Linked DNA regions of Homo sapiens: regions 1, 2, 3, 4 and 5 are each linked to region 6. Evidence: promoter capture Hi-C in 16 types of primary human blood cells and fetal thymus (Javierre and others, 2016). All regions are on one chromosome and are shown on one strand. Each heading gives the region's core, a stretch centred on a gene start or on the middle of the fragment in contact. The rest is flanking DNA. Distances are from core to core; before and after follow the strand shown.

Evidence for each region. The method cuts DNA at HindIII sites, captures the fragments that hold promoters and counts their contacts. A CHiCAGO score of 5 or more calls a contact.
Region 1: a contact is called between a fragment that was not itself captured here and the fragment with the promoter of PGM2 in region 6, in 1 of 17 cell types (naive B cells). The highest score is 5.8, in naive B cells.
Region 2: a fragment that was not itself captured here is called in contact with the fragment with the promoter of PGM2 in region 6 in 7 of 17 cell types (M1 macrophages, M2 macrophages, naive B cells and 4 more); the score reaches 8.7 in M1 macrophages.
Region 3: a contact is called between a fragment that was not itself captured here and the fragment with the promoter of PGM2 in region 6, in 1 of 17 cell types (neutrophils). The highest score is 6.9, in neutrophils.
Region 4: a fragment that was not itself captured here is called in contact with the fragment with the promoter of PGM2 in region 6 in 13 of 17 cell types (M2 macrophages, M1 macrophages, M0 macrophages and 10 more); the score reaches 12.0 in M2 macrophages.
Region 5: a contact is called between a fragment that was not itself captured here and the fragment with the promoter of PGM2 in region 6, in 12 of 17 cell types (M0 macrophages, M2 macrophages, M1 macrophages and 9 more). The highest score is 13.7, in M0 macrophages.

What each region holds. Positions count from the first base shown.
Region 1 is chr4:37,955,628-37,960,106 of GRCh38, forward strand. The region is part of intron 2 of TBC1D1 (TBC1 domain family member 1); the gene reads left to right. Among named protein-coding and RNA genes, the nearest start is that of PTTG2, 2.5 kb to the right of the region's middle. The HindIII fragment of the contact is 1,258 bases long and covers 2,341-3,598 here.
Region 2 is chr4:38,055,366-38,059,640 of GRCh38, forward strand. All of the region lies in intron 14 of TBC1D1 (TBC1 domain family member 1), which reads left to right. LOC124900692 reads right to left here and starts at 784. Exons shown (of 2, transcript XM_047416508.1): 1 at 415-784. The coding sequence starts at 601. RefSeq lists enhancers at 1-152, 2,215-2,384. The HindIII fragment of the contact is 8,507 bases long and covers 1-4,275 here.
Region 3 is chr4:37,678,228-37,682,755 of GRCh38, forward strand. The region is part of intron 1 of RELL1 (RELT like 1); the gene reads right to left. Among named protein-coding and RNA genes, the nearest start is that of RELL1, 5.9 kb to the right of the region's middle. The HindIII fragment of the contact is 4,673 bases long and covers 1-4,528 here.
Region 4 is chr4:38,017,613-38,022,470 of GRCh38, forward strand. TBC1D1 (TBC1 domain family member 1) reads left to right here. Exons shown (of 22, transcript NM_001396959.1): 4 at 742-831; 5 at 2,979-3,083; 6 at 3,974-4,106. Among named protein-coding and RNA genes, the nearest start is that of PTTG2, 60 kb to the left of the region's middle. RefSeq lists an enhancer at 2,750-3,949. The HindIII fragment of the contact is 1,519 bases long and covers 1,729-3,247 here.
Region 5 is chr4:38,035,651-38,039,949 of GRCh38, forward strand. It overlaps TBC1D1 (TBC1 domain family member 1), which reads left to right. Exons shown (of 22, transcript NM_001396959.1): 8 at 1-48. Among named protein-coding and RNA genes, the nearest start is that of PTTG2, 77 kb to the left of the region's middle. The HindIII fragment of the contact is 2,082 bases long and covers 1,975-4,056 here.
Region 6 is chr4:37,824,144-37,828,512 of GRCh38, forward strand. It overlaps PGM2 (phosphoglucomutase 2), which reads left to right and starts at 2,543. Exons shown (of 14, transcript NM_018290.4): 1 at 2,543-2,670. The coding sequence starts at 2,590. RefSeq lists enhancers at 1,012-1,181, 2,214-2,715, 2,716-3,215 and a silencer at 2,426-2,725. The HindIII fragment of the contact is 6,567 bases long and covers 1-4,369 here.

The DNA.
Region 1 (4,479 bases), core at 1,720-4,219, 130 kb after region 6:
GGTTGAATCCACAGATGCGAAACCCATGGGTAAAGAGGGTCAACTGTATATAAATTACAATGTGTTACAATGTGCAGTTTCCACTGTGACTCTTTTTTACAAAAATTTCTGCCCTTTGTTATGAGCACCTGTGGTCCAAGAATAAGCAGTGTTTAAGAGAGCTTTACCTCAAAGTTTACACTTTTCATTTTTCTATTATGCATATAGATTATAATACATATTGTCAGGGCTGGCCGTGGTGTCTCACGCCTGTAATTCCAGCACTTTGGGAGGCTAAGGTGGGAGGATTGCTTGAGTCTAGGAGTTTGAGACCAGCCTGGGCAACATAGTGAGACCTTGTCTCTATTTAAAAAATAAAAAATAAATATCTTCCCCCAAAATACATATAATCTGCTTCAAATAAACTTTTTTTTTTTTTTTGAAACAACGTCTCTGTCACTCAGGCTGGAGTACCGGTGTCGTGATCTAGGCTTACTGCAACATCTGCCTCCCAGGTTCAAGCCATCCTCCCACCTCAGCCTTCTGAGTAGCTGGAATGACAACCGGCTAATTTTTGTATTTTTTGTAGAGATGGGAGCGGGGGTTCTCCCTGTGTTGCCCAGGCTGGTCTCGAACTCCTGGACTTCAAGCGATCACCCATCTCAGCCTCCCAAAGTGTTGAGACTACAGGCATGAGCCACCACACCCGGCTTAATGAACTTCTAATACACTATGCCATTTAAAAATTTGTTTCATTCGTTGTCTGACTCTCTTTTCACTAGGATGTAAGTTTCCCGAGGGCAGGGGTTTTGGTTTGTTTTGCTCACAGATGTGTTGCCACAGACTAGACAGTACCTGGCCCCCAGTAGGTGCTCAATACATATTGAATGTGAAGTGAATAAACTTCCAGCAGACTATCCTCATTGTGCTTTAACACATTTAAAATGACCAAATGGCTTTTCCCTGTACTTCCATTCTGTGTCTTTTCCCCTTGACCTCATGTGATATGCTCAGGGACGCCAACTAATGTTAGTATTAACTTAAGAAAAGTGGAGTGTAGCCGGGCACAGTGGCTCACACCTCTAATCCCAGCACTTTGGGAGACCGAGATGGGCAGATCACTTGAGGTCAGGAGTTCAAGACCAGCCTGGCCAACACAGTGAAACCCCATGTCTACTAAAAATTAGCCAGGTGTGGTGGAGCACACCTGTAGTCCCAGTTACTTGGGAGGCTGAGGCACGAGAATCACTTGAACCCAGGAGGTGGAAGATGAAGTGAGCAGAGATCGCGCCACCGCACTCCAGCCTGGGCAACAGAGCAAGACTCCGTCTCAAAAGAAAAAAAAAAAAAAGAAGGGAGTGTAGAAATGAATTTCCCCCAAAGAAGCCACTGATGCATGCCACGGTGAAACTTAAAGAATTACTCCTATCCGGTCTTTGGGATTATCTGCACCATGGCCTCCCTCCCCTTACAGGAAGGATCAAGCTGACCACATAAACATTTAGACTCCCTACGTGAGATGGGAGAACATAAGCCCCTCATGAGTTTGTATAATACTCATGGCCACAGTTACACAATGTGGCAGACGTATCTCTTCCTTTCCAAAAGAAGGAAAGAGACAAATGTATGATACCTGATATGACACATGTTTTCATTCTTCACAATCATTAAAGTAATAAATAACACTACTTTTTAGAGACAAGGAATTTATCTGTTGACAGGAATATGTATTGCTGGGCACAGTGGCTCATGCCTGTAATCCTAACACTTTGGGAAGCCAAGGCAGGAGGATATCTTGAGCCCAGGAGTTCAAGACCAGCCTGAGCAACACAGCAGGACCCCTCTCTACAAAACATAAAAAGATTACCTGGGCATGGGGGTGCGTGCCTGTAGTCCTAGGTACTCAGGAGGCTGAGGCAGGAGGATTGCCTGAGCCTAAGAGTTCGAGGCTACAGTGAGCTATGATCACAGCCTCAGCAACAGAGCAAGGTCCTATCTCTTAAAATAATAAAAATAAAAACAAATAAATAAATAATATAGAAAGAGAAGAGAGTTGAGATTCCAAAACAGTCTTTCTGACTCCAAACTCCATTTTTATCCTACACCACTTTTTCATAAAAGTTCAGAACAGATTGTTTGATGTTTTTCTTATTGCTCATTATTACTTTTTAAAAGGTCAATTCTGACATGTGATTTACATTTCCTGACAAACTACATATCATTTTCCTCCCTCCCTTCTGTCTTTCCTTCCTTTTATTCTTCCATTTATAATGCAACAGATGATAGTTTTTCATGGTGTCCTGTAGGTAGTGTATTTTATTTTAAAATACCAGATAAAATTATCAGCAGCCACTTGTGGAAAGCTTCACTGGAAAATATTACTTCAACCATACTTATATGTTTTTTAAAATGCTATTTTTGTTGATCTCTGCTTAGAACAACAGAAACACAGATGGCTACAGTTACTGGATTTGCTGCCAGTTTTTATGCCCCTTTTCTCATATACGTTTATGGCGACCAAGTTTACTTTCAAAAACATATGCTAAGAATAGTAACACATTTTTCAGATTTGAAGTTGTCTAGGAAAAAAGTATGCTTCATATTAAGAAAGAGTCTGTAAGATCAACAAAGCAGATTCATCTCCTAGAAAACCCATTCTCTGAGCAGGCCATTTTCATCTCTAACCAATAAACACCAGATTCCTTAGCTTGGCAATCAAGAACCTTGACCATATCTGGTCCCAGATGATTCTTCATATTTTTTATTTTTGTTCCAAGATGGTGTACTCTATTTTCCAGCAAAATGGGACAGTTAATTTTTCCTCGTAGCCATGCTTTCCTCTGTTTTGTTCATTGTTGTTTCTTTTGCCTGGGGAGATTTCCTCTTCTTTTACTTAAGCATTCCGTCTCTCCTAGCTCCTTCTCTTACTTAAGCATTCCATCTCTCCTAGCTCAAATGCCACCTCCTCCAGAAAGTGTTCCTGGATTAGATTTGCTTTCACACCTCTAGACCTCCTTTATTTGTCCCTTCTTTAGGACACATATATGACATCTTTTACTTTAATTATTTCTGCCCCAATTCAGAGTACTATTAGAAGGCTGTTAATAAAAAATGAATGTGTCGGAAGAGTTGAAAGAAGTTGTTTAATAATAATTCCTGCTAATGGTATAATGAGACAGGATTACAGACAGGTGGCCTGCAAACTTTATTGTAAAAGTTGCCTACCATAGTGTTTGAAGAAAAACAATTCAATTGGAATGCCTGCAGATTGGCACACACACTCTACCCCACCAGTCTCCCCGTTCCCCATTGTCTTCCACTGGCACATCATATATTTACATTCCCTCACTGACTCTGGGTGGCACTTGAATTTACAAGCTCCATATAGAGGTTACATCAATCAGTTGATATACCAGGTCCAAGTCATGGCTCTGTCACTTTCTAGCTAGCTGTGTCAGGTTAAGAGCAAGACTTCTAATGATACCTTTGAATGGCCCTTTGTATTTGAGGTGGCCTTATGCAAATAAACAGGCACAGTTGACCCTTGAACAATGTGAGGGTTAGGGGCGCCAATCACCTGCATAGTCGAAAATCCACCTATAACCTTTGACTCCCAAAAAGCTTAACCGATAGTCTTCCGTTGACCTCACCAATAACACAGTCGACTAACATATATTTCGTATGTTTTATGCACTATATCCTGTATTCTCACAATAAAGTAAGCTGAAGAAAATGTTATTAAGAAAAATCATAAGGAAGAGAACATATTGCATTATTCATTAAGTAGAAATAGATCATCATACAGGTCTTCACCCTCATTGTCTTCACGTTGAATAGGCTGAGGAGGAGGAGGAAGAGGAGGGGTTGGTCTTGCAGTCTCAGAGGTGGCAGCCGCAGAAGAAAATCTGAGAACAAGTGGATCCATGCGACTCAATCCTGTATTGTTCAAGACTCAACTGTATATTTTTGCATATGGGCTCAAATACGTACGCACATATGTCACTGGGTCAAAGATTCATAGAATGAATTAGACAACAAGAATATTTATCATTGAATTGAAATGGCTCACTGCAAAAGTGCCCTCAACTTATCTCTAGGCCTTAGAAACAGAAGTGACCCTTTGCTGCTGTGAATCAATAGCCTGGACTAGATTGGGGTTGGGTTGGCAAAGGTATATAGTCATTGCCATAGTCCAGTATTCCTGCCCAAGCAAGCACCATTAGTAGTCACGTTGCTCAGAGAGGGCCTCTCGGCTCTCCCCACCACTGCATGCTGGATTGTCTGCCACCAGTAGATCAGAGTTGGCAAAAGGGATAACTCGGGATGAAACATTTGAGCATTTTGCAGTTTAGAGAAACTTCAGGGGTGCTGCTTTAGTAAAAAATGGAAGACTTGCATTTATTAAAGGTTAGTAAGAAGTGAAATAATGTATGCAAAAGTACATTATAAATTAGAAAATGCAATAACGGCAGAAACTATTTATTTATTGGTTGCTCTGCC
Region 2 (4,275 bases), core at 675-3,174, 230 kb after region 6:
TTACCACCTATAACCTGGGATTAATTATGCCTGTTGCCACACTGATAGAGACAAGGCAGCATGATATCATTACTGATACATTTTTTTTAAAGCATTCAAAATTCATAGTACTGGAAAGAAAATCAGTGATGCGAATGTTTCCAGGGTAATGTCACCTCCCATGCTGTGGAAGTCCTTCGGGTGAGCCTGGCCCCTTGCTTCTTTTGCCCCAGCCTTTCTATGTGGGGGCACCATGGAGCTGCCACTCACCAGCACCTTTTTTCCCTCAAGTAGTTTGTACCTATAAAGTATTCCTGCCGTGGGTGGCCCCTCGGTGGAGCTGCTGAGCCTAGCCAGGGTTTGATTTCTCTTCCTGCCAGTGTGAGCCAGATGGCCACATCTCTCTTCCCCTGCCCCGTGGAGAGGTCTGCTTACCGCAAAGAAGGGCTCTTCCTCCCAGGTCCTGTAGCACCCTGTTAGAGGGTGTGGAGTGGAGCAGTGGGAACCAGAGCCACCAGAGGGAGGCCCTGGAGGAGGAACGAAGCTGATTCATGTCTGAAAGGGGTGCCAGAACCCAAGTTTCGGTGTTTAATAAAGAGTGCCTCGGTGTTGCGGTGGCCATACCTCACAGGGCATGGTCGCTTGGAAATTTCTGCTCGGAAATGCTTTGTGCAGTGGCCAGGATGCGTTAGGGGCCACAGATGACTGCTTGCTCCATCATAGAACAGTTCCAAGTTTTCAAACGAGCATTCACAGACTGAGCCGCATCCTGCCTCCCTGTCCTCTGATTCCTGGCTTCTTCTCTGGTCTCTGAAGCCACACGGAAATGTGTTTGCATCTGTTTCCTGCCCTTCAGATGACAGAGGACCATGGAAGCTGCTGCCTCCTTTAGCTCTCTTCTCCAGGGGAATTGCCCTCGTCACTGTTTGGGAACCCCTGGTCCGAGTCCTGTCCTCCGAAGAGCCTCTGCCCCTCCTGGAGTCCTGAGTTGAACTTGGTGTTCACTTGGCCTCTGGCTCTGGCAGTGTGTTGCTCCTTCCGTTGACCTGCCACTGCTCTGTTAATGCAGATTGATCTTCATAATCTGTTTCTGCTTTAAGTGATTAACTCAAACATTCTTGGCTCTTATTCTATCTTGTCCTTTGGGATATGAACCATTATTTAAATTTGGACTGGTTTCCTGGCTTGGCACAGTTGACCATGCCTGTAAGCTCAGTGCTTTGGGAGGCCAAGGCAGGAGGATCCCTGGAGGCCAGGAGTTCGAGGCCACCCTTGGCAACATAGTGAGACCCTGTCTCTACAAAAAAATAAAAATTAGCTGAGCGTGGTGTTGTGAAGCTGTAGTCCTAGCTACTTGGGAGACTGAGGCAGGAGGATTACTTGAGCCCAGGAGTTTGAGTTTACAGTGAGCTGTGATCACACCCCTGCACTCCAGCCTGGGCAACAGAGTGAGACCTTGTCTCGCGGGGTGGGGGAGTCATGTCTATACTTGAGAAGTTTTTTTCCCTCGCATAGTTTGTACCTATAAAGTATTCATCAGTTTTGAGCAGTCCTTTTGCGATTGTTTTGAGTCTTGAGTCTGGTGACCAGTAAGTTGTATATATTTGCCTGTCAAGTGGACAAACATGGCCTTTGTGCCTTTAAGTAATGGCTAAAAGTACCAAACAGAACAGGGCCTGGCATAGATGCTGCTCCTCCTGTTCCTAGGCCGTAATCACCCCTGATTCATCAGACCCCAAACAAGTCAGCTCCTCTCCCTCCTGTGCCCCACCACCCAATCTCCTGCAGGAAGATGTCTAGAGACCCCTGTCAGCGCTAGGCAGAGATCACCATCCATGTCCACCTTTCCTCTGATGCAGGTTCCCACTAGCCCCTCTGGCTTGTGCCATGCCAGCCATGAACTCACCCTCATGCCCCACCCGAGCCCTGGCACAGGCTATTCCCTCTGCCTGGAATGCTCTTCGTCAGTATCCCCATGGCTCCCTCCCTCCCCTTCCCTTGTATCCTGACTCTCCCATAGCAGCTCTCTCCCTGTAACACATGTTCACAGGTTCATCTTTGTCACCCATCTCCGGCAGCTCCTGCAGGCTTGATGGCTGCTAAAGGCAGGCAAGTCAGTGGCTCAGATTCTTGCAAACTTAGTGATTAGTGATTTCTCAACTCCCTCCTCATGCCTCCTCTGTCTCTATAGGCACATATTATTTCTTATCTCTTCTCAGAACCAAGCCGCCTGAATTTCTGAATAACATTGTTTAAGTGTTCTGTGTATGCAAAAGAAAAACGAGAATAAAAGGATTATTAAGGAAGAATTAATATAATAATAGCCACATATTATGCTCTTTTTATACTCTGCTAAGTGCTTTACATGAATTATTTCCTTTAATTAGACAATCTTAAGAACATCGACATTTTTATGAAGCCCATTTTACAGGTGGGTGAGTGGAGGCTGGGAGTGGCTTAAATCACTTTCCCCAAACCAGGGAGTTAGTGGGAGCCAGAGGCAGGACCTGAGCTCGCGGGTCTGAGCTCCAAAGCTCATTCTCTGAACTGTGCACAGCACTGGGCTGCAGCCAGAGATGCAGGACGCTGCGGGACCCTCTGGAGGTGGTCCTGCCTGTGCTTCCCTCTTCCCACAGGAAGCTCCCTATAGGCATCTGTGTTGGGCGTGGACTCTCAGTGTACCTGCATGTCTCCCTGTTGGCCAGACACCAACACTGAATGGAAAACATGTTTCTGGGCATTTTAATGTACGTACTTGCCTTCAGTCAATCTCCTCCGCCCCCTTCCATCCTGACCGCCTCCCTAATAGTTAGCAGTGGGACTGGAGCTTGAATGGCAACTGATTTCTGTCTGAGAGGACAAATCAGGCATCTTTGTCCTCTGCCACTGTCTGTTCCCCATCCTTAGGATGCACGATGCCAGAGCCCTCCACTGTGGTCTGTGACCACTTTGACCCACACTAGCAGGTCTCCATATGTTCCTTCCAGCTGAGAGACATCACATCCAAAGACAGTTTAGAGCTCTGAGGTTTCTTTCCCCAGAGGTCCCTGCTTTGTGCAAACTGTCTCCAGCCAAGCGTGCACAAGACTCTGTTCCTGATTTGCCTGGGCGGCTGAGCCATGGGCAGCTGAGCCTGCAGCCGCTGGACTCACTGCATTCCCACTCTGACTTTGGCATGAAAGACACACAAGTGTGCTTGTGAGAAATAGATCTTAACAGTACCTTTTAACACCTATTTCAGGTGCTCAAAATGACTGCCTGTTTTACATTTATATTCTGGCAGTGCAAACTTCAATTGGACAGGAAATCTTACAACCTCTCTTCCAGGTGAAAAAGCGAGGCAGGGATGTTTATACAGTTCCATCCATGTCATCCCACTTGGAAGATACTAGTAAAACACACCAACAGTAATACAAAAACCATGGTGTTTGCAATAGTGATAATGTTACTAGTGAAGGAAAAATAGAAACTTTCTGTAATTTGGAGATTCTAATTTTTATAGGTGGGCTAAAAAAAAAATCTGGAGAGAAGGGTGTTAAGTGAGTAAGGAGTGTGTCTCTAACTAAATATAGTGTAAAAAGAGAAGAAAATACAAAGTCAGGCACAGTGGATAGAGGTGGATAGTCTAATCTCTAATAGTATAATGGGCAAAATTGTCTCAAACAAAATTAGTCTGCCTCTTGTTTACTCAGGGATGTGTGACTGTTTTCTATGCACAAAATCCCCATGAAATAATTAAGTTGCAAGAATCTGAACTTTATATTTTGGAAACCTATCTGAGGTAGGTAGGAAGTTAATTTATATTTAGAAATTTGCTTGCATATGTCTAGTAGCTCCAGGACAAATATTCCCAAATCCCAGACTATTTTTTTTTCTTTTTAAATTCAACAGTGACCAGTTGGTCTCTTGTAAGAATTACAGCCTTAAGTTAGCAAAGTCTAAGAGGGCTGGTTTTAATCCTGAACCTCAGAGGGTCCCTGCTTCTCAAATACTAAGTAGGTCACGTGCACAGCAGGTACTACATTGAAGGGAAATTGTATGATAAATAGGAAATCAGCGATTTTTACTTGGAGACTTGGCAAGGCAAATGTTTTTGTAATAAAAATAGATCGTGAAATAGAATCCTGAAAGCTGCCTGTTTAAATGTAAAGCAAATGGCTTTAGTGATGCTTTAAGTGTGGCAGTCACTTCTGGCTGCCGCAGAAACTATAGAAAGTGCATTCTCTCTTGGTGCTGTGGGTTCTTAGGGTGAATGCCTTGTGTGACGCTGAGTATGTGGAAGGACCATTCATTCTT
Region 3 (4,528 bases), core at 955-3,454, 150 kb before region 6:
GTGAGGGCAGCACTTCTCATGATGATGCTAAATCATTCATGAGAAATCTACCCCCATGATCCAATCACCTTCCACCAGGCCCCACCTCTAATACTGGGGATTACCATTCAACATGAAATTTGGGCAGGGACAAATATACAGACTATATCACCTTATAAAGGTAATGCTTTCCTTCCTTCTTTGCTTAGTTTTGGTGGCTAATGGCTCTGCCCCACAAATCCCCTGCCTCCCAAGAGAACTCTGCCAAGCCCATCAGACCCTACTCCTTCGGGCACTGCCCAACATCCCCTCCTCAAAGCCCCCTCTGCCCTTTACACAACCAGCACCCAGGGCTCAGGAGCAACAGGTGACAGGAAACCCCTCAAGTAATGGCAGAGGCCCAAAAAGGAAAATTCTGGAGTGGTTAGGAACTTTGTCTCATTCTTTAGCTGTGATAGGTTAGTATCTGGTTTAGCCTAGGCAATAATAATAATACACTTTTTCATCACTTACTGTGTGCCAAGCACTCACTAGTTTTATCTTACATAACTGACACAACAATGCTATGAGGCAGCTCAGCCATATTCTCTCTATAATACCGATAAGGAAAGTAATTTAAAGATTTTTTTTCTCTCTGTACAACAGGCACTTTTATTAGTGGCTGGAATGCAGTTATCCACAAGAGTGCACAAACAAAATGGGAGAGGAGGATCAGGTAGGGCTGGCAGCTGGCAAGGGAAATGGGAGATACCTGGCTGGCGGGTTCTCTCTGTTTGAGATCCTGGGACAGTGCTATCAAGTAAAGAGAAGAAGCCGGGGGCCTTGGGGTATTGCAGGTGGGAATGGAAAACCAGGTCCTCTGAGTTCAACAGGTTTGGCAAAAGGATCCCCAAGGTAAGATGTCCGGCCCCTCTACCCATCCATCCTCCAGAAAATCCCTTGGGTAGATTCAGTTTCTCTTACAAAGAGAACTGTGTTAGTAACTGGCAAAAGAAAGCAGAGGAGAAATTTGGCCCAAACTCTCCATCTAGCCGACAAGTTTCCATTCTAATTGGCACCCATTCATAAAGTCACTTGGAATAAACAAAATCTTAGTTTTTTGGGGGTACCCTTATTTTCTTAGATTTCACACTAGAGTACCAAAGTTGTACTTCTTTTTCTGAAGTGTCACTCATTTGAGGACTTATTTTCCCCATTGGAAATTTTGCTACTTTGAGCAGTTTTATATTTGCCTCCTAACAGACACAAATAAATGAGTCACAGAAGCGAAAATGCAGGACCATAATCCCTTATCTGAAAACCTGGAAGTCAGATGTGCTTCAAAGTTCAAACCTTGTGATTTTAGGAAGGTAATGCAATGCATTTAGCGCACAACCTGTAACACTCAAATCAAATTCATTAATATTATTCAGCAGAACATGCAAATAGTCAAGATAGAATAATATATACCATAGAACCACACATTAGGCTGGGTGTGGTGGTGCATCCCTATAATCCCAGCACTTTGGGAGGCCGAGGTGGGTGGATCACATGAGGTCAAGAGTTCCAGATCAGCCTGGCCAATATGGTGAAACCCCATCTCTACTAAAAATACAAAAATTAGCTGGGCGTGGTGCATGCCTGTAATCCCAGCTACTCGGGAGGCTGAGGCAGGAGAATCTCTTGAACCCGGGAGGCGGAGCTTGCAGTGACCCGAGATCACACCACTGCACTCCAGCCTGGGAGACAGAGAGAGACTCCATCTCAAAAAAAAAATTAAAAACCTCACATTAGTTCAAGTTAAGTTTTACAACCTACAGAGGGTATCAAAAGCCTACAAGAAAAACTTGTTTTCAGAGCTTTTTACATTTCAGAATTATCCATAAAGGATTACACACTTGCAAATGGCTCAAAAACTAGAAGAAAACAAAATCAACCTGATAGTTACCAACCATGTACAAATTAAAACAATCAAGGTACCAATTTTTGCCTAACAAATTAGCGAATATGTTTTTCAGAGAAAATAACAAGAATATGAAATTGAGTCTTTTTGGCTATTGCTGTGAGAATGTAACCTGGGATGACCTTCAGATCAACACTGATGTCATCAATTGCCTCAAAAATGTGAACATCTTTGACCCTCAAAGTGCCTTTTCAGGAACCCATTTTCTGTGGAAGTCCTCTGATATTTAGGCAAAGTTTCATGCACAGAGGCATTCATTGAAATGAGTTTTAAAACTCACTTAAAAATAATGAGCAACTGAAATCTCCCAAATAGATACATAGAAGTAAAATACAGTGAATCCATATAGTGGAACAGTAGGCAGCCCTTTTTTGGGTGTATAGGGAAATAGAGAAACATTTCTGTGTAACATAAACTGAAAAAGTCATGATACAAAGTTATATTGCATTATGAACCTATCCGAGTTAAAAATGCAATTAAAGAACCTATGCGAGTTAAGAACGCAATTACAGGCTCATGCCTGTAATCCCAGCACTTTGGGAGGCCGAGGCGGGCGGATCATGAGGTCAGAAGATCGAGACCATCCTGGCTAACACGGTGAAACACTGTCTCTACTAAAAATATAAAAACAAAATTAGCCAAGCATGGTGGTGGGCGCCTGTAGTCCCAGCTACTTGGGAGGCTGAGGCGGGAGAATGGCATGAACCCTGGAGGCGGAGCTTGCAGTGAGCTGAGATCGCGCCGCTGCACTCCAGCCTGGGTGACAGAGCAACACTCCATCTCAAAAAAAAAAAAAAAAAAAAAATGCAATTAGAGAAGACCAGAATGAAATATGCTAACAATGGCTAGTGCCTTGGAGTAATGGAATCAAGGGTGATTCTCGCTCCTTCCTCCCACAAACTTTAGATCTTTGGGGAAATTTTCCAAAAATACCTAGTGCACTGTATTTTAGCTAAAGGGAAATGAGAAAAGATGGCTTGGCTACTTAACTCCTATGCAACAGTAGCAAACTCTAATCTGAGGTGTCACTCTGGGCTTTTTAAAAATCCCTATCATTGCAAAGCTATCACCACCTCCAGAATAAAAACTGTTTAATATATGTGGTCCACATTTATTTGACAGTTTAAATGACGTAATATAAATCAAGCCTAATGCGCACTCTGGAGAAAAAATACTATATTTTTTAAAGATACACAGGATAAAAGATATATGCCACTTTGCCATTTACCCAGAACTTTCAGAGACAAGAGCTCAGTAAGACAGAGCAGCCAGTAGGACAGAGAGACAGGTGTTGGCACAATGCCCATTTTACAGGTGAGGAAATGGAGGTGGACAGAACCATATGCTGCAGGCATCAGGGTCTCCTTCTGTTTTTTTTTTTTTTTTTTTTTTTTTTTTGAGACGGAGTCTTGCTCTGTCACCCAGGCTGGAGTGCAGTGGCACGATCTCAGCTCACTGCAACCTCCGCTTCCCAGGTTCGAGTGATTCTCCTGCCTCAGCCTCCCCAGTAGCTGGGACTACAGGCATGTGCCACCACATCCAACTAATTTTTGTATTTCTAGTAGAGACGGGGTTTCACCATATTGGCCAGGCTGGTCTTGAACTCCTGACCTCGTGATCTGCCCGCCTTGGCCTCCCAAAGTGCTGCGATTACAGGCGTGAGCCACTGCACCCGGCTTCCTTCTGATTTTTGACTTCAAGTCCAAGGCCCTGACTTAAGGCTTGGTGCTCTTTCCACCATAGCATCCCATGACCTTGTTACTTACTGATTCTTTACAAATATGTTAGAATAAAAAGAATTTTCTTACTCAAAAAAATAGTTTAGTAATAATAAGCATGGACTTCAAAATCAAACAGATCTGACTCAATGGACTCCATGACAAAATCCAGCTTACACATGAGTGACTTTTTCAACTTCTCTGAGGCTCAATTTCCTCATCTACAAACACAGGAATAAAATTATGTATATAACTGACAGGAAATTAATTGTAAGAATGAAATGATCTAGGTATTTAGACTACCGCCTGCACACAAACCAGGTAATAATAAAAATTGAATTCCTTTTTCCTAAAAGAGTAAAGTGTCTACAGTGTACTAACACCAAATTCTGATTTTAGTTTTTATAAATCACACCAGAATTATTAATATACCCGCTTTCAGCAGCACACCAAATCTTTACAACCACTTAAGTGTCCGAAATTATTAGGAACCACTCAACCTAATAGTTTATACCAATGACAATTTAATTTATTCTTTTTGTCAGCTTTAAATCATTTCTCTATTGTTTCAATAAGTCATTAAACTTCAACATTAGGGCCAAAGAATCATTTTTAAAGAAACAATAAAATCTGTTGTTTGTTCACTTGGGGCTTTGGTCTCTCACATTCAAATTCAACTCTTCAAATTTCCAAATAGATTCATTTCATTTCCATTTTTAGAGGGGGTAGGGGCAGGGAATTGACAGAGACTTCTCACATTTTTCATTTCCTTTTAAAATTAAATGTAGATATGGACTCCCAAGCTCCAAGGTGTGCTTTTTCAAAACTTTCCAAACACTATATATTATGTGGATGTACAGCTTCGCAGCTACCTGGCTAAGAGAGACCC
Region 4 (4,858 bases), core at 1,238-3,737, 190 kb after region 6:
TTTAGAGGAGGAGATGGGTCTGGGAGTTAAGAATGGCAGCGTCAGGATGTGACCACTGACTTCTTGGTCCTGAGGAGAAACTAAAGCTGTAGAAACCAACACACACTGAAACCCAAGAAGCTTAGCGCTCCAGAGACGAGGAGTCTAAAAGGCAGCCTTTCACAGCCTGCAGGGGCGTGTGCACACAGAGTAGGTTGGGTATTGCAACACAGCAGTCTCCTATAATGCATGTCTATTAGCATGTCCCAAGGCAGTAAGAGGATTGTAATTGATGCTCATACTCTAACTTGAAAAGGTCCGGTCACTAGTGTATGTGAATGCCTCACATGTAATATGTACTAAACAAATGGTAGATTCTTTTAACAATAATTTAAAAAGACTTGTCAGTAAAAATCATTCAAAAGTATCTTGGAAGCTTTGAAAGAGTAGATTCTGTTTTCTGGAAGGTTCACTTATGCGGAGACCTCAGTTTTTAGGGGGATGTGTGGATCTTGAGGCCTATTGCTAACTTTTGGATATCTGGTTCTTTCATCTCAAGGAAGATGGCTGTCTTATCTAGGTGAAGGCACTAATAGATGTGTCTTATGACCTGAAATCCAGAGGATAAGAGGGGACCTTTGAAATGATTTCTACGATGATAGAGTCAGAATTTTATAGGAGCTTGTCCCTTTTATTCTTTATTTTCATAGGTCATGAAATGAGAAAGTTTGAAAAGCTAGATTTTTTTGTTTGTCTTTTAAGATTGGCCAGTCTGAAGTTTACCTCATCAGTCCTGACACCAAAAAAATAGCATTGGAGAAAAATTTTAAGGAGATATCCTTTTGCTCTCAGGTAAATGGAGATGGGTTTTTTTATTCAATTGCAATGGAATTTTTAAATGAATTTCTATAATATCTATCATGTAACAAATGCTAAAGGTTACAAGGTGTATGTTTTCTAAGTACTGTACTTGATTTGTGTTTCGCTTTTCTTCTTTGCTTTGGTATGTTAAGGTAAATTATGAATATAATTTTGAAATTAAGAAATTTGCTCTTAGCAACAGTAATGGACAAAATAGATCTACTTTTAATTTTCTCAGTTATTGGTAGTAATAATCCACAGTCATGACTTCCAGATGCACATGTGTGTGTCTTTGTGCATATTACACATATATATTTACACATTTCACACAAATATATCTTTTTATTAGATATATTTCTACTTTACAAAAATTTGTAACTTTTTTGGGTACCAATTGTCAGTATTCTCCCTTCAAATATAGATAGTGCTTATCTTTGACATATATATTTACACATTTCACACAAATATATCTTTTTATTAGATCTATTTCTACTTTACAAAAATTTATAACTTTTTTAGGTACCAATTGTCAGTATTCTCCCTTCAAATATAGATAGTGCTTATCTCAGAGTACAGTGTCTACTTGAAAACTTTTTTCTTGATAATCTTCCAGGTGTTTCATAGAGGGATTTTGGAAGAATCTATCAATTAAGATTAGCTGTGCCAGTTTTACTCAGGATCTTCCTAACAAATATGAGATCACTTAAGGTTATATTTGCTTTTTTTTTTAAACTCTGGATTTTTCATTTTCATAATTGATAAAATATGAAAATGTCAGTGTTGATTTATAATGTGATCTACTTAAATATTCAAAAGGGACTTTTCTGCAAAATGTGAAAATAAAGAATGTTCTTTACAGATTGAATAGGGAACCATTTACAAAGAAAAAGCTTTGCTAAATCATATTTCCTTAAGTGGTAGCCTTATGCTTAACTTGCTACTGGAGAAGATTAATTGAGATGGCAAAGCATGTTAATGATTGCTCATTTATTGGAAAATATTTGGCCTGAAAGTGAGATTACCCATAGAGTTTTTAATCCTGATTTGCTGCTATTTCTGTTGAAATATGAATGTTAAATGTTTACATTTTTGTGTGATAGCTTTATAATTTCCTAAAGAGTGTAGTTTACAAGTTTATATGATTACCTGAACATTAAGCTATCAGCACTCACATCTCTGCATGATGATGCTTTCAGAATACATTGATGTATTAATATTTATGGCAGACGTTTTATCTGTATTAAGGTGCCTCTGATAGCTGATGATTTTAAAACACATTTACATATTAATATTTATTAAAAATAGCTCTTATGATACCATGGTAGAGCCTTGGCCTAATATGTTTAAAAGCTCCTCTACTCTGTGTGCATGTAATTTTTGACTCTTTCTTTATTCCAGTTCACTTCAGTATTTACCTACTTATTTTAGGAATACAAATATATTTTAAATATTTTTTTAACCTTTGGGTGTGTATGTGCTTAGTTGTGTTTCTTCATGAATCTCTGGTCTGCCTTTGATTTTTTGAGTGGTTTTTATTCTTTAATACCTATGTCTCAAACAAAACAACAAACAAATACTAAAATGAGCACTAAAACTTGAATTTTCAGATCTTATTTTTCTTATTGTTGTGGGAGTAATCAAAGGAACATTCTAGTAAACCAACTTTATTTGAGATGTTTTTAGACTTTTTGAAATTTTAAAATATCAGAGAAAATAGTAATTTCCTAGTGTTTTTTAAAATTGTGCTGTGTAGGCCAGGCGCAGTGGTTCACGCCTGTAATCCCAGCACTTTGGGAGGCTGAGGTGAGTGGATTACCTGAGGTCAGGAGTTCGAGACCAACATGGTGAAACACCATATCTACTAAAAATACAAAAATTAGCCGGGTGTGGTGGTGCATGCCTGTAATCCCAGCTACTCAGGAGGCTGAGGCACGAGAATCACTTGAACCCTGGAGACAGAGGTTGCAGTGAGCTGAGATTGTGCCATTGTACTCCAGCCTGGGCAACAAGAGTAAAATTCCATCTCAAAAAGATAATAAAAAGTAAAATAAATTGTGCTGTATAAATCTTGAGGTGCATTTCTGAGGATGGTGCGTCTTCTGGATACAACTGAACATCTCGTTCTCTCCCTTTGGCAGGGCATCAGACACGTGGACCACTTTGGGTTTATCTGTCGGGAGTCTTCCGGAGGTGGCGGCTTTCATTTTGTCTGTTACGTGTTTCAGTGCACAAATGAGGCTCTGGTGAGAGAGGACAAGCAATTCTTACCTTGGAACCTTCTTTACAAGGAATTTTAGCTCCACTGATTTTTCTGTCCTTAGGGAAAACCAGATGGTCATTGACATATCATTATTTGTCTTTAGTTATTTACTTATGACTATTTAGTAAGCAGCTAATACACATCTGAAGCTTAATTGGCTGTGCATTTTATATTTTTTATTTCTGAAGAACTTGTTTAGTGTCACCTTCTGGTCTAGCATTTTACAATGTCATTTTAGACATCTGATCAAAGGAGTTTGCCTTTTTTCTCAGTAGTTTGTATTTTTAGTTTTTACTGTATCAGTCTGTTCTCACACTGCTAATAAAGACATACCTGACACTGGGTAATTTATAAAGGAAAGAGGTTTAATGGACTCATAGTTCCACATGGCCAGCGAGGCCTCACAATCATGGCGGAAGGTGAAGGAGGAGCAAAGGCACATCTTACATGGCAGCAGGCAGGGCAGCGTGTGCAGGGGAACTGCCCTTTATAAAACCATCAGATCTCGTGAGATTTATTCACTATCATAGAACAGCACAGGAAAGACCCACTCCCATGATTCAATTACCTCCCACTGGGTCCCTCCCATGACATATGGGAATTATGGGAGCTACAATTCAAGATGAGATTTGGGTGGGGACACAGCCAAACCATATCATTTACCTTACCTGCTTTAAGAGCTTTGAGCATACTTGTAGTATTTTCAGACTGTAATCCTAGCTGTTATTCCAATTATTATCTGTCAACCTGTGAAGAGTAGTACAGAAAACTCTTAAAGCTTAAAAAATCTTTTCCAAAGATTTTCTGACATCTCAGCCCAGCTAATTTCAAATTGACTTTTTGGTGACTACAACTTCTCTTCTCTTTGATTAGGTTGATGAAATTATGATGACCCTGAAACAGGCCTTCACGGTGGCCGCAGTGCAGCAGACAGCTAAGGCGCCAGCCCAGCTGTGTGAGGGCTGCCCCCTGCAAAGCCTGCACAAGCTCTGTGAGAGGATAGAGGGTGAGTAGGGGACCCTTTCCAGCATGAACACAGTGGGAGTTAAAGGTCCCAGGAGAACTTTAGATGATACTCATCTGTTGGAAGATTCTGCCTAACAGAGGCTTGTATTAGTCACAGGGATTGTAGGTGGACTCTCAGTGTGCAGTGGGTGTCTTCTGTATGTCAGGAATTGTGCCGGATGCTGGTGATACAAAGATAAGAACCCAGAACCCCCTTCTGCCACCTCCCTCCAAGGTATTCTGAGGATGGAGGAGGAGTTAGGGAAACAGGTTACCAAACCGGTTGCCTAGTGTTTATCAAGGTTGTGTGAGTGGTCAGTCATACTGGGCACTGCAGAGATATCTAGAAAGATAAGAACTAAGGAACTTGTACCAGTTTCTCCATTACAAGGTCATTAGTAACGTCTGCTAGTACAGTTTGGATGGAGAGGAGGTAGCAGAAAACAGGTTGCAGTTGAGGAGCAAATGGGAAGAAATCAAAGAAACGGTGACTATTAGTATTGACCAGTATTTCTAGAAACCTGGCTTAGGGAGAAACTGTAATAAATGTTATGATTTGTAGCTAACGTGTATTGAATAAGATCTGCCAGGAAGTGTATTAGGTGCTTTCTGTTATCTATTTAATCCTCATCACATTTGTGGGAGGAAAAGGGACTATTTATTTTGCACATATTGCAGATAAGTAAATTGAGGATTAGAGATGTCTAGGAATAAACTAGTGTATAGTGAGCCCATGATTCACCCCAGGCGGTA
Region 5 (4,299 bases), core at 1,766-4,265, 210 kb after region 6:
TATGAAGAGAAACAGAAAGAACACATCCATATTGGGGAGATGAAGCAGGTATGGCATTTTTGTCTCTTGTAATTGTTGCCAAGTCTCTGCCAAGTCTCTGTATAAACAACGTTTTGAGGATTTTCTGAAACTCTGATACCTTTTTTTCTCCCTATGTTTTATTTTCCTTTGTTGCACATAGAGGGGAAATTTGGGAGTGTTAGACTATGTATGCTTGAGAAGATAAGAAAAGTTTCTGCCTGCACCATAGTGGAGGCAGAACAGTTGCTCTAATAAGAGGACTGGCTTAGAGCAGCAAGAATTGAGTGTAAGAGTGGATGCCACCAAGATGAGCTGCTTGGCTTGCAGGGAGCTGGTTTGTCACCTCGCCTTTCTTCTTTGTAAACCTGGAAGGACATTGCATGGCTGCCTTTGGAATTACAAAAAGTACCTGAACGTCCTTTGTGATATAAATGCTAGGTCACAAATCAGATACAATGTTGGCAAGCCTGACTTATGTGCTATTCAGGTTAGAACTTGGATTAATTCCATTTTGCATGGTGGAAATACAGAGTCTCCCTCCCCTCCTCCACTGTCTACAGCCTTATTTAGCTTTTCTCTTTGTGGGGTCTCAAGGCAGAAGCTGGGGCTCTCTGCAGATCTCTCCCTTGGAAGATCTTCAGGTTTGGGAGTCCCTATGTTACATGGTACCACAGACCATTTCCTTTGTCTTTTGGACTCCATGTGAGTCCATTCATAATGAACCATTAATAGCTTCAAAACATACACATTTTATATTTGCTAAAGTTACCTGTTGGCCAGAAATCTAGAGAAAAATCAGTGAAGGATGTACAAGTTTCTCAGTTTCCCAAAAGTATGTTCCCTTTTTCTTTTTGAACACTCCCCACGTACGTGTTCCAAAGACACTTGTGTGCTCAGTGGTGTGCCCTGTCCTACGGCAGCCTTTGCGTCTGGACCCTAAACCAAGTGTGCAGTTTTCATGGGGTGTACACTTAGCAAATCTCCACATAAGGTTTCTACCTTCTAGGTGGCTTTGGCAGTCACGTGCCTTCCCTGAACACTTGGGCTGGTGTACAGTGTCAGCCACGGTTTCTAATCTCATTGGCCAGCCATGAGGTCCTTTAGCAGTGACTCTAACATGAGTATATGACCTGTGTTTTTTGGGGTTTTGACTTGTGGTCTTGGTTTGTAGCCATTCCTCCCTTCCCAACCTGTACCCTTAAGATAGCATTCAAGTTCTGTGTCTCTCCTGTTCATTTTTGGATGGACCAGTTGGTCTAAGTTTTCAGTTAATTCTGGAGTTCATTTTTCAGCCTATTTCTTTTCTCTTTTCCACTCCCTTTTTCCCCTCTTGTGCCACTGATAGCTTTTTCCCTGTTCTGATTTTCTTTTATCTGAGTCAGTCTGACTTGTTCCAACAGGAAATTGATAATTTTGAAGTAATTTATAACTGCTAGAAAGGGGAATGAAGCATTTACGGTGGATGGAAAGTCTTCTTTTACTAAACATTTTGAGCATTTATGGTGAATGGAAAGTTTTGACCTAACTGCAGACTCATTTTTATGGACCAGCATAATATTTTTATGATTTGGGCATAGATCATCCAATGGAGAAATGTGTTTAATGTTTTTTTTTTACCCAAAAAAACATAAGAGTTCAATGTAGAAGTGACTGAGCCTTACAAGCAGAACTGGCATCTGTGTAACACTTTTACTAGGGGTTTCTAAACATCATGAACCAGACGGCTCATGTCTTCGTCTATAAAGAAGCTGCCCTAATCCCCTGATGAGGTTGGTGTACTCCAGGCTGGACACTCTCATGGGCTCTGAGGAGTGGGTTTTTCAGAGCAGCAGCTGCTTTATAGACCCATTAGGCACAGCCTTGAGATTCACTGATAGATCCTTTTCATGTTTTCTGCTATCAGTTTAGCCACGTGGATTTCATTACCTTCTTGTTGCACCTAAAAATTTCTAAAGCTTTTGAAAATGTGGGAAGATGTGACATAGACCGTGGTAGGATCATGGCTTTGACAAAGAACTTCTCTGGCCACAGGACTTCAGAAGCGGACAGAGGACAGTGAGCGCTTCTCTCAGTGCTGTGCGTGTCAGGGTCGGCAGGGAGGCCATATGCGCTTTTCAAAGACCAAAAGAATAGTGCTGGAGAACTGTCAGAGGAGTTGTGAAATAGAAAAAACCCTGAATGAGTCTTTTGATCTTATAGAACAGGGTTCAGTTTGGGCAAGACTTATACATTAAGTTAGAGGCTGTCACGTTTTAGTCAATGGACTTGTCGTTTCCACCTGTATTCACAGAGGTGGTACAAAAATTAGTATGAAATCAGCTGCCACTTACTGAATGTTTGCCAAGTGCCAGATAGAGTTCTCATTCCTTACATAAATGACTCCATTCATTCTACAAGTTTTTTGAGGTAGGTGGTAAAATACCCATTTTATAGATGAGGAAATGGGGAAGAGCAGTCAAGCAGTTACTAGTGAGTAGTGGAGCCACTTTGTCTGATGTCTAAGTACTTTATCTTAATTATTGTGTGTTTTTTTAAGGAGCTTAACAAAATTTAATGCTATATAACTACTTACTGATTTTCTTGGGTCTGTTTTCTAGTAGATAAGATTTTCTTTCTTTTTTTGTGACATTTTATTATGAAAAATTTCAAACATATAGAAAAGTTGAAAGAATTATACCATGAGCACTCATATACCCACCATCCAGATTTTACAGTTTTAAAGACTTTGTTAATTTGCTTTATCATATATTTATCTATTAGTCCACCTTATTTTTGCATGCCTTTCAAATTAGGTGATATCAGTACCCTTCATCCCTAAACACTTTAGCATGTATATCATTAACTAGAATTTAGTGTTTGCTTCCAATTTTGGGGAGATTAAATTTACATATGGTAGGTTATGCAAATCTTAAGTGTACCATTTGTTGAGTTTTGACCACTGCTGCTACATTCAGGTAGCTCAAACCCCTATCAAGATATAGAATATTTTCATCCTGCCGGGCGCAGTGGCTCACGCCTGTAATCCCAGTACTTTGGGAGGCTGAGGTGGGCGGATCATGAGGTCAGGAGATTGAGACCATCCTGGCTAACACAGTGAAAGCTCGTCTCCACTAAAAATACAAAAATTAGTCAGGTGTGGTGGCGGGTGCCTGTAGTCCCAGCTACTAGGGAGGCTGAGGCAGGAGAATGGCATGAACCCGGGAAGCGGAGGTTGCAGTGAGCCGAGGTCGCACCACTGCACTCCAGCCTGGGCGACAGAGAGAGACTCCCTCTCGGGAAAAAAAAAAAAATTTCATCCTACCAGAAAGTAGCCCTATATTCGTCTTCTAGTCAGTCCTCACTACCCCTTCCCCCAGGTAACCACTGTTTTGATTTTTTTCACCTTAGATTAGTTTTGCCTGTTCTGGAATTTCTTATAAATGGCATCATACTCTTTTTTTTTTTTTTTTTTTTTTTTTTTTTTTGAGACAGAGTCTCACTCTGTCACCCAGGCTGGAGTGCAGTGGCGCTATCTTGGCTCACTGCAAGCCCCGCCTCCCAAGTTCACGCCATTCTCCTGCCTCAGCCTCCTGAGTAGCTGGGACTACAGGTGCCTGCCACCACTCCCAGCTAATTGTTTATATTTTTAGTAGAGACGGGGTTTCACCGTGTTAGCCGTGATGGTCTCGATCTCCTGACCTTGTGATCTGCCCACCTCGGCCTTCCAAAGTGCTGGGATTACAGGTGTGAGCCACCGCGCCTGGCCGGCATCATACTCTTTGAGTTCTGGCTCCTTCCACTTAGCATAACGTTTCTGAGACTCATCAGAAACGTTATGCTACATTGTTGCATGTATTAGTAGTTTGTTGTTGCATGTATCAGTTGCTTGTATCAGTAGTTTGTTCCTTTTTGTTCTGTGGTATTAATGTCAAGAGTTTCTTTCTCCATTCTCCTTCTGAGCTGCTTGATTATGAATAAGGCTGCTGGTAGATACATTGTGCCAGCCTGGGATGGTGAGTTCTGAACTGAGAATTTCAGTATAGCATCAGGATTTAAAGCTTGAATACTTGAATCCAAACTTTCATGCTTAGAGTTTACCCCATCTGTTGAAGGATGTGCAATATAATGACTGCAATAGAATTCACTGTGGAGCCTCCAAATTAGAAATTATTGTCTGTGAGGGCCAGGCACGGTGGCTCACGCCTGTAATCCTAGCACTTTGGGAGGCTGAGATGGGAGGATTGTTTGAGGCCAGGAGTTTGAGACCAGCTTGGTCAATATAGCGAGACCCCCATCTCT
Region 6 (4,369 bases), core at 1,293-3,792:
GCCGGGCGCGGTGGCTCATCCCTGTAATCCCAACACTTTGGGAGGCTGAAGTGGGCAGATCACTTGAGGTCAGGAGTTCATGACCAGCCTGGCCAACATGGCGAAATCCGTTCTCTACTAAAAATACAAAAAAAAAAAAAAAAAGTCTGGGCCTGGTGGCTCACACATATAATCCCAGCTACTCAGGAGGCTGAGGCAGGATAATCACTTGAACCCAGGAGATGGAGGTTGCAGTGAGCTGAGATCCCACCATTGCACTCCAGCCTGGGTGACAGAGCAAGACTGTGTCTCAAATAAATAAATAAATAAATAAGCCGGGCATGGTGGCACGCCCCTGTAATCCCAGCTACTCAGGAGGCTGAGGCATGAGAATCTCTTGAACCCAGGAGGCAGAGGTTACAGTGAGCCGAGATCACACCACTGCACTCCAGCCTGGGTGACAGAGCGACACTGTGTCTCAAAAAATAATAATAAAATAAAGTTGAAGAACATACGGAAAATGCACAACTCATAAGATTGCAGCTTAGTGAATATTACAAAGTCAACACACCTGTTGACCATCGTCCAGGTCAAGAAACAGAACAGTCCCGGAACCCCAGAAGGCACTTTCCCTCCTTCCCAAAGCTACCACTCTGCTGACATCCATAGGTTAGTTTTGCCTCCTTTTTAGTTTTTAATCTTAAAACTTAAAAAAAAGAGATATAACTTACATACAGTGAATTTTACCCTTTATATCGTACAGTTCTATAAGTTTTGATAAAAGTAAACCCCAAACTCAATCAAGATACGGAACAGTTCCACAACTCCCTCAAATTCCCTTGTGCCCTAGGTAGTCAACCCCTCCCCCAACCCCCAGCTCTTGAAAATCACTGATTTGTTTCCTTTACCTATAATTTTATATATTTCAGTGTTTTTTTTTTTTTTTTTTTCAGGGTCTCCCTCTGTCTCCCAGGCTGGAGAACAGTGGCACAATCAGGGCTCACTGCAGCCTCGACCTCCCAGGCTCAAGCGATCCTCCCTCCTCAGGACTCCCTCCAGCTCCCCCACCACGAAATAGCTGGGACTACAGATGAATGATGCAGTATTTTGGGGTGACGGGGTATGGGGGTGGGTGTTTGAACTCTGTCACTCAGTGTTTGTGAGATTCATTCATGATGTTGTGTATAACAGTAGTTCACCTGCATTGCTCTATCAATGTGCCATGATTTATTTATATGAATTGGTATGGATATACTACCAAGTATTTATCCATTGTATTGTCGATGGTCATCTGGGTTGTTTCCAGTTTGAGGCTTTTACAAATAATGCTGCTAGAAATATTCTTGCCCGTGCTTTTTTATGCTTATGGGTATGCATCTTCTTTATGGCTTGGTGATACCAGCGTCAGGAAGATGTGCTCCTATGTTAGTTTCCCTAAGTTTCACGCTACTATGGAAAGAGACCACCATTTCTGCTGTCCTTCCCAGCTTCTCCCCCACCTCCCCTTTTCCCTAGTTTATAAGACAGGAGAAAAGAGAGAAAGCAAAAAGTTGGAAAAAAACAGAAGTAAGATAAATAGCTAGACGACCTTGGCGCCACCACCTGGCCCTGGTGGTTAAAATAATAATAATAATATTAACCCCTGACCAAAACTACTGGCGTTATCCGTAAATTCCAGACATCGTATGAGAAAGCACTGTAAAACTTCTTGTTCTGTTAGCTGATGTATGTAGCCCCCAGTCACGTTCCTCACGCTTACTTGATCTATCATGACCCTTTCACGTAGACAGACCCCTTAGCGTTGTAAGCCCTTAAAATGGCTAGGAATTTCTTTTTCAGGGAGCTCGGCTCTTAAGACGCGAGTCTGCCGACGCTCCCGGCCGAATAAAAACCTCTTCCTTCTTTAATCCGGTGTCTGAGGAGTTTTGTCTGCGGCTCCTCCTGCTACACTACCTTTCGCACTTAGAGATACAATTGATCTGGAGTTCAGAGCTGTGTGTGATGGGAGGTAGGGGGCCAAGTTCCCTTTTTTCTTTTCCCTACGTGGATATCCCTTTGACCGAGCACCATTAACCAAAAATAGTTCCTTCCTGTGCTCTGCAGCCCCGCCTCTGAAATAAATTGTCCATACACGTGTATTTTTGTTTCTGGTCTCTATCTTATGTTCCACTGGTCTTCCTACTTTGCTTTTCTTTTTCAAGATTTTTTTCTGGCTGTTCTTGACCCTCTGAGTTTCTACATAGTCTTCAGGCCCCTATCTGGGTGCACTTCCTGGTATCCCAGCATCTGACATGTGCCTGGCGCGCAGCAGGAACTCACGGCTGGCTGTAGCCTGGATGCATCAGAGACGATGGCAAACCCTTCTCACACGTGCCAGGTTCCAGCAACCCACCCTAGCCCCGCAATTCCTCCTCGCTCACTCCCACCCCCTGCAGCGCACCCGCAAACGGCAAGGAGGCGTGCCCGCCGCGGCGCGCGTCACTTTCCCCCGGACCGACTGGCTCCGCCGCGGCTCTCCCCGCCCCCGCCTCCGCCTCCACGTCTTGGGGCCGGGCCGGAAGGCAGATCTCACCGCCTGCTTCCCTCTGCAGCGGTAGCACAAGCTCAGCGATGGCGGCTCCAGAAGGCAGCGGTCTAGGCGAGGACGCCCGGCTGGACCAGGAGACCGCCCAGTGGCTGCGCTGGGACAAGGTGAGGGGCACCAGCAGGCGGGGAGCGCCTGGAGCGGGGCCGGGTGCTCTGCCCTCTCCAGGCGCGGCGCTGCTTGCTCTGCCTGAGCTGCCTTCCCGCCCAGTGCATCCCGCTTCTCCCCCGGGAAGACCCAGGAGCGTACGGCCGCTGCTAGGCTTCCTTCGACCTGGCCGGCATGCGGCACGTTCAGAGTTAGGCCGGGAAGGCTTGTCCCCGGACGAAACCAGCCATCCGGCCGGCCGGACTGCAAGTTCGGAGTAGAGGAGCGAGCCAGGGTGGTGTAAGCGCGGCCAGACCCTGGACGCTGTCTAGTTGAGGGGCGCACGCCTTACTGTCACTCAGACCGCTGGCTCGTCGTCGGTAGTCGGCTGTGCATCCCCATGGACCCAGAATCGCTCCGTCCCGCGTATTCCTTTGGCCGCTGAGACCTTTGCAGAGCAGCGTTCTGGTCCGGTCCTCCCATCCCGAGGGCTTGGTTACAAACGTGGGTTGTCCTCCCGGGTGGGCCCGCCTGGCTTCAGGAGTCCCCCTTAGAACTTTGACTGCCAGGGAGGCACACCTGGGACACAGCACGGTTTTCTCTCTCTTCATTCCGTTTCTTAGAATCAGGAACCCAGCTCTGGACATCACTCCCTCTCCTCTCTATAAACTTGCGTCTCGCCCTTTCGACCTGTTCTGCTTGCTGTTAGGTTTTCTCGGAATGTCCCTCGCTGCTCTCCTGCTGAACTTGTTTCTCCCGTTGTGACTCATATTTTGTGCCTGAACTTAAATGTGGCTTACGTAGAGAGTCAGTCCTTCCTTGGCTCCGAAGCGTTAAATTATTTATCCCTAATATTCACTCTAAACAGTCTGTTATTTTCCTTTATAGCTCTTACTACAAATGGTAAAAACAAAAAACTCCAAAAACACTTGTTTGTAGGTTTGTTTAATGTCTGTCTCCAGGGCCGACTTCAGGGGCGAGAGACCCCTGCAGTCTCACAGGACTCGCGCTCCTTGAAGGGCCCACTGTTGTTTTAATGTCCTGCTGTCCTGTCTTGAAAGTCTTACTGGTAAAACAAGAGGTCACCCACTTTCATTGTGCACTGGACCTCCATAAATTATGTGGCCAGGCCTCTCTATTCTCACTACCTTGGTTTGTAGTGCCTGGCATAGGCATAGTGCATGACACATAGTAGGTCACTGAAATACTTGAATGAACAAAGAAGATTACAAGGTCAGTAGGGGTCAGGTCTTTGTCTTTATTTACCATTCTCTGGCCCCTACAAATAAAATGTCAGCAAATCCCATTTCCAGGATGCTATTGGCAACTCCTTGGGGGCGTTTTTCTTTTCCTGGGAAGATAACCTTGTGATTCACAAGGGAAGAAAAATGTTTCCATTTCTGATAACTTGTAGCTTGCAGAGTACAGAATTCTTTTGAAGTCAGAGTTCATAATGCACTTTCTCTAAGAAGAAGAAGAAAACAATCTAATTTCTACACAGTGTTGCATCTGTGTATAGAAAAATTGTATTTCTCTGGGTAGAGATGAGATGTCCTTTTTTTTTTTTAATCACTTCTCATGTTCTATCCTCTGTTAATTTCTTCTTTGCTTTGAGACTGGCACCTGAGAAGAAGCCCATTCATTCTCCAGTGAACCTCCCACCAGCTAAAAGCATTGCAGCCCTCTAGTCAGACTACCCCCGGCGACTGGCAAGGCGCC